Linked DNA regions of Homo sapiens: region 1 is linked to region 2. The links are contacts of gene promoters, found by promoter capture Hi-C in human tissues and cell types (Jung and others, 2019). All regions are on one chromosome and are shown on one strand. The core of a region is centred on a gene start or on the middle of the fragment in contact, and the rest is flanking DNA. Distances in the headings are between cores, read along the strand shown. Region 1 has its middle 22 kb from the start of LINC01732. Region 2 holds the start of RGS16 (regulator of G protein signaling 16).

Region 1 (3,174 bases), core at 453-2,952, 1.5 Mb before region 2:
ACAGGTGCTATTTGTTATATCACAAAAATCCTCCAAGTCCACATGACTGAAAATTGGGGGCAAAGGTCACCTCTGAAAGCTTATTTCTATCTTATTCCTATGTCATTCCTGAAAAATCCATGTGCTTATTATAGATTGTAGTGGTGATAAAAGAGGTGAATTGCTGAACTGACAAAAATACTACAAAGTAGAAGCAGGGGATTAAATATACAAAATTGTAACCTGTGATCAAAATTGTGACTTTGATCTAGGCTTAGAAATTGTTACACCTTAGCCCATGTTACTGGCAGGCAATGTAAAGTCAATATATTGCCAAAGAATTTGTCAGCCACACTGGGCAGTGTCCTCTCTACTAAAAGGCCACAGCCATGGAATGAAAGCCCTGCTCCTGGTCACAGACAGCCCAGGTCTGTTCTGGGAGCCAGATTTAAGGGAGGCCATAGCAGTGCCAGATGGTAGAAGCCAGAATATGGACTGTGGAGCCGGGTAGAACCTGGTTTGAATCCTGCCTCTGCTGTGAATGACCTTGGGCATATAACTTAACCTCTCTGAGCTTCTCTGAGCCACTGTCTTCTTATCTGTGAAATGGGAATGGTAACATCACACTAGATTCTTGTCAAGATCAAAAAAAGATGATGTACTTATATGAGTACCTAGCACCATGCTTTGTTGACATTGACATGTGAGACCCTTTCTCTCAGACTCTATCCTGATTGCATCAGAATTCTACAAGGCCTGGCATCCACTTATCAAGGGTATTAATTTCCTCCACGAGGCTGCTTTGACCTCCAGAACCCAGCGGGCGTGCTCTTCTGAACTCTCCACCTTATCACCTCCATGGATCATATCTTGCTTTGCTGAGTGTGCTTTCTATTCCTGTATCTGCATTTTACTTCCTCGATTAGGGTGTAATCTCTTTCCAAGCAGAAGCTTTCATCTTTTTAAAATGTTCCATTTTTGCATTTTAGCGCCGTGCCTTTTTGCACATAGCGCTTGCTCAAAAAATAGGGATCGGTTGATATTTTATCTACTTTTGTGTCCTAAAAATTGCCCCAGAGTCATGAGCTGAACTTAGCTTACATGAGGTCGTTACTACAAAGTCACAACATGTTTATTCATTTATCTGTTTATGTGGTAGCCCTACCATGACTCACACATCCAAATGAGGATTGCAGCCGTATAAGGGGCACTGTGAAGGCTGACTGTGATTCTGGGAGCCTGTCACCTCGCAAAACATTTTTGGAACTCCTGCTTTGAATCAGTGCCAGAGTTGCAGTGGTGAATCTTCACACCTCCTGGGAGGAGTTATTTTTGGAAACAGTGAAAATCTGTCTGGTCACATTTGGTAGGTGTGGTCATTCAGGGCCTGAGTGTGAGGAGGGATGCTCAGTGGAGTGATAATTAGTTAATATTTAATTGGCCATTTCCAATGTGTCAGCCAGTTTACATCCACTGTCTTATTTTAATCTTAATGTGACCTCTATGAAGTAGGTGGTCTTGTTATCACCATTTTATAGAAAAGGGACCCTGAGGCACAGAGAGTATAAACCACACTCTGTACAGGGACTCCATGGCTTTTTACCCATTATTAAGCTAGTGTAGCAGGCACAGGGGACATACCCAAGTAACCCTTATGTACCCTAGCAGAGATGAGGGACCTGGACACCTTTTTTAAAAACAATAAGGCCAAGGACAGCCACATTTGGATTAGTGGGAGCAGGGGGAGAGTATGGGGAATGCGGGAACCCGGGAGGAGCTAAGAAAACTGGTCAGATCCTGCATCATAGGTGAGTACAGGCACCCCAGGGGGCCCAATGGGAGAGACCAGAGAAGGGAGGAGAGCACTGGGGCTTGTTTGGGAACCTCTGAGTGGGTAAAGATGGTCACTAAAATCTCCAACCAAAGGAATTCTTTTTATGCCTCTCTTTTTTGCTTTCTTAAAATTGTATTCATACTTGCTGATTATAAAAGGAGTTCAAGTTCATCGTAGAAAACTTAGAAAATATAGAGAAGTGATAAAGAAAATAAAAGTCATCTGTAAATGTCCCTCTCCTCCCCCAGGCCTCAGGCTTTGCTAAGACAAGGCCGCTGAGCAGATCAGCACACATCGGGTTATTTATAAAGCTCCCGCCTTCCTCTCCACCCACTCCCCTCTCTCTTGGCTACGGAGAAGCCTTCGGCCAGGACATTCCCTTGCAGCCTACTCAAGCTGCTATATAAAGCCCTGCACTTCTCGGGGCTGGATCAGAACGTTCCTTATCTCTCTGCAGCAGGACGCTGATAATCTGCCCAGCTGGCAGGCGCTCTGAGGTCGGCTTGGGCTGCTGCTCTCAGGGCCTACAGCCCCCGTGTGGTCGTCTTCTCTGGTTCCCACTGAAACTTGGCCAACAACACTAACTGAAACCTCAAATATAGGAAGTTGTTGGCTTGTTTCATTAGAGGGCAGTTGCCAGACAGCTGAGATGAACTTAATGGGCTTGGCATGGGTGACTGGTGTGTCCAGCACATTCAGGCTTAGTGGTCAATACTGATGGCCCATCGTAACGTCCCCTTCGGAAGCAGCTGTGCCAGCTCCCTCCTTCCCCAGCCCCCACCCCTGTTCCATCCCCTCTCTGCATTAGTGCTTGGCTCAGAGTCTTCTTCATCCATATGGCTTCTACAGGCAAAGGCCTTCTGTGGCCAGGTGGCCTGCTGCATTGCAGTGCCACAATTCCAGGCTGGACTTCTACCTAATTGAGAGTGGACCACAGCAGACGTACTTGCTCTGCCTAGAAAATAAGTTTTGTCATGAGAGGCAGAACCATCTTATTGCTGTAAGTCAGGGCAGAGGAGTGTGCAAAAGAGGCAAGGTATTATCCTGAAAAAATACACAGGTTTTAAATCGGAGCTGGTGTGACATCCTAGCTTCTCCACTTAGAAAGAAGTGTGATCCTAAGTAAGTTATGTAACCCCTTCGAAGCCTGGTTTTCTCATCTTTAAAATGTAGAGTGATATTTCCATCTTAGAACTGTTGTAAAATGTAAATAAGATGACATATGTAAAGCACTGAAAACATACATCAGATGGCATTATGGTAGCTATTTTTTTGTTTTGTTTTGTTTTGTTTTTGAGATGGAGTCTCACTCTGTTGCCCGGGCTGGAGTACAGTGGCACAATCTCGGCTCACTGCAACCT
Region 2 (3,180 bases), core at 162-2,661:
AGTCTGGGAACTAGGCATTCATGCCCTGTGTGCCCTCATCCGTGGATGGACTTGGAGCCCTGGAGCCACCTACCCACTCACCCATGAGCCAAGTAGTCATAACAGACCAGCAACAAGTCCCACTAAAATCTCTAGGGAGGTGTTGCCAAGGTCCACTTAGCGTGTCCTGGCTTCTCCCTGTATTTCCCTCCTCATGACTCCCTTCCCACTCCCTTCCCTCTCGGAGCCCTGAGCTGGTCAGCAACACTTACTTCTCTTTGCTGTGTTTACTGCCCCACTCGAACTTGCCAGTACTCCCAGTATCGCAGCCCAGCTCTGATTTGTGAAGAAAGATCCCCAGACGTGTCTTGAACTCTTTGGCTCTGAAAAACAAATCAGGAACATGAAAGCATTCTCTCATTTGCTCAGCCAGTGTGGAGAGGTTTATGGGTCCCAGAAGAGCTCTGGGTGGTGCCACCCAAACTTTAGCCTCAAGAGTTCCTGGAAACTCTTGGCTGTCCCCAGGCCAAGAGTGCTTCTCTTATCAGCATCATCAACCCCAAAGCAACAAAAGCAATGTTTGAGCTATGCTGTGGTAGGTCTTACACTTTCTGGGTAATACACACGCTGCATATATGGGCTTTTCCCTAAAGTCACACTGATCTCTCTTCGTGCCTGTTGATTCAGAAAAGAACTCAGCATTCTTTTCAGAAGTATTTCTGAACTGTGTGGGAAACTGATTCCTGCCTTCATCTTTACTTTTTCCTTCCCAGCCAGTAAGGATTGGAAGCTGTTGAGTAGCTCTCTGGAATATGGACACACCCTCAACAGTGGGAGCCCCCACCCCCACACACCCCACCAAAAAAAAAAAAATCTCCCTGTCTTCCAGGGGCAGAGGAGGCAATGCCCCTAGCTCTGGTCTGAGGAATGAAAAACAAATGCTTAAGAAATGGGCAGGCTCAGTGCTGCCTGGAAATGTCAACGTGGCCTTCCCGCAGCCGGGTCTTCAGCAGGTCACCTGAGCACGACTGCAGTTTGTCAGAGGATGGGGATGGCAGCAAGCCGCGGGCCCTTGCTTCCCTTCCCCTTGCTTTCTCCCTGCTCCTGGAATCTGAGCACGTGGCATCAAGTGCGCTTCTACCTCTCTACTCAAGCCTCTAGCGCCCCATCCCCGCGCCCACCCAGGTCCCCAGGCCTGCCGCTCCACTCCCTAAGAGTTGGTGGGACTTCCCCCAAGCAGTTGGACAACCTCCCCTTACCTCTCCAGGCAGGTGGTGGGGAAGGCGGCCAGGGTGCGGCACATGGCTGCGGGCGCAGGGCAGCACGTAGTAGGCAGGATGGTGGCAGGCTCCAGGAGGCTCCGCGTGCGCCAGGAAGCAAAGGCGCGGTAGCAGGTGCTAGTCAACTGCGGTTGGGTTTAGCAGCCTGCAAGCGCCCAGACTGAGCGGCCGCTGCTTTAAATCCCCTCGGAGGAGCGGGGCGGGGCTGGGCACTGCTGACCAATCGGAGGGTGGGGCTGGGCGCTGAGAAGGCGGAGGCGGGGCCCGCAGCCAGACTGGGCCGGGTGCAACTTTCGCGGCAGCTGGAGCACGCGGAGCTGCACCCTCCGCCCAGAGGACGCCGCGTGTGGAAGGAAAAGCGGCAAGAGAATTGGCACGGGGATGAGACGTGCACACCCAGTTTCCTAGGGAAAAGTACCTGCCGACCTCTAGTAACAGCAGGAAAGTCACGCAGCGGTGTCGTGTTGAGAGAGTTTGCACGGGGGTGGTGGGTCTGGGAGGCACACAGGGCTTTCTTTGATCGCAGGCAAGTCTGAGCCTGCTGGGTCCTGAGGACAGGCGCACAGGGTGCAAACCTGGGCAAAACAGCATCTGATTATACTGATAAGTACCCTTTACGAGGCTCTTACCATGATGGACACGGGGCTAAGTAAGCTCTTCATCATCATCTCCATTTTATAGATGAAGAAATCGAGAATCAGAAAGCTAAATAAACTTGTCCAAGATCACAGTTGGAGATGACAGAAAAGTGGAATAGGGATGAGTAGTTTATTGAACACCTACTATGTGCTAGGCACATAAGTAAGACTTGCTCAAAGTCTTAGTTATTAAATAACTTGCTCAAAGATGTGCAGCTAGTAAGTGTTGGCTCCAAAATTCAAATGTGAATTTGCCATTCTTTTTCCATTGCACACACACACACACACACACACACACACACCACACACACACACAAAGGTTAGTACCCGGTCACGGCTATACCTGTGGACGATCCTGGGTTTAAGCAGTTAATACCTTATTGTCTCCATCTCTGACATAAAGGTAATAAATGCCCTTCCTCTCACCTCATCTTCCCATAAAGGCATTGGGATTGCTATTAAGAGGCTGTATGTGAGGTTAAAAGTACAGGGTCTAGAGTTAGATTTTCAGGTTTCAAGTCATGGCTCTGCCAGGTGACCTGCTGAAGACCCAGCTGCAGGAAGGCCACGTTCACTGTTAACTGGCTACTGATGGGAGACGAGGCAAACTGCTTAACCTTTCTATGCCTCCATTTCCTTGTCTCTACGAAGAGAACAACTTATTTCATAAGGTGGTTGTGAGAACTAAATAAATTAATTCTTAGTTTGAGTTCCTAGGAACTAGACTCGGGTAGACACTTGCATGCAGGAGGTTTACTGGGGAGAGTTATCAGAATTAAGAGGGAGTAAAGAAAGCAGGTCTGGGCAGAGGGAGGAGTTGAAGGCCATGCCATTTCAACAGAGACCCCAGCTGGTTCCAAGGAATGCCCGGAAGCTCAGCTGGCCCTTTGGAACTGTCCACTGAAGCAAGAGGACAAGGCCCTGGTAACCCCATAAAGACCATTCATTGCATACAGCTGCCCAAGAAGACAGCCTAATCTTAAGGCAGTGCCCTTTGTCAAGAGCAATTCCTGGAGAGAGACTAACACCCTGGGAAATGATGATCACAGTCCCCAAGACGGGATCTGGGTGGCACCGCACAGCATCCGTGACAACATATAAGGTGCTTATATGACAGTGCTCAACATGTAGTCAGCAGTCAATAAATGTTATAATAGCTTTCAGTTTTACTTAATAGGGATACTGGGATTGCTAGCAATAAGGAAAATTAGTGAGTCTTTTGTGCCTCTTGGAATACAGTATAGGCAGTGTATACTGAGGCACTCTTAGTTAAGTACACCTGA

Evidence for each region. The method cuts DNA at HindIII sites, captures the fragments that hold promoters and counts their contacts. A contact is called where the count stands out against the background at its distance.
Region 1: a fragment that was not itself captured here is called in contact with the fragment with the promoter of RGS16 in region 2 in 1 of the 25 tissues and cell types used here (heart right ventricle).

The regions. Positions count from the first base shown.
Region 1 is chr1:181,150,875-181,154,048 of GRCh38, forward strand. No RefSeq gene overlaps it. Among named protein-coding and RNA genes, the nearest start is that of LINC01732, 22 kb to the right of the region's middle. RefSeq lists enhancers at 1,039-3,174, 2,082-2,291 and a silencer at 2,131-2,415. The HindIII fragment of the contact is 8,194 bases long and covers 1-3,174 here.
Region 2 is chr1:182,602,978-182,606,157 of GRCh38, forward strand. It overlaps RGS16 (regulator of G protein signaling 16), which reads right to left and starts at 1,412. Exons shown (of 5, transcript NM_002928.4): 1 at 1,239-1,412; 2 at 252-362. The coding sequence starts at 1,282. RefSeq lists enhancers at 977-1,036, 1,127-1,176, 1,647-1,726. The HindIII fragment of the contact is 25,162 bases long and covers 1-3,180 here.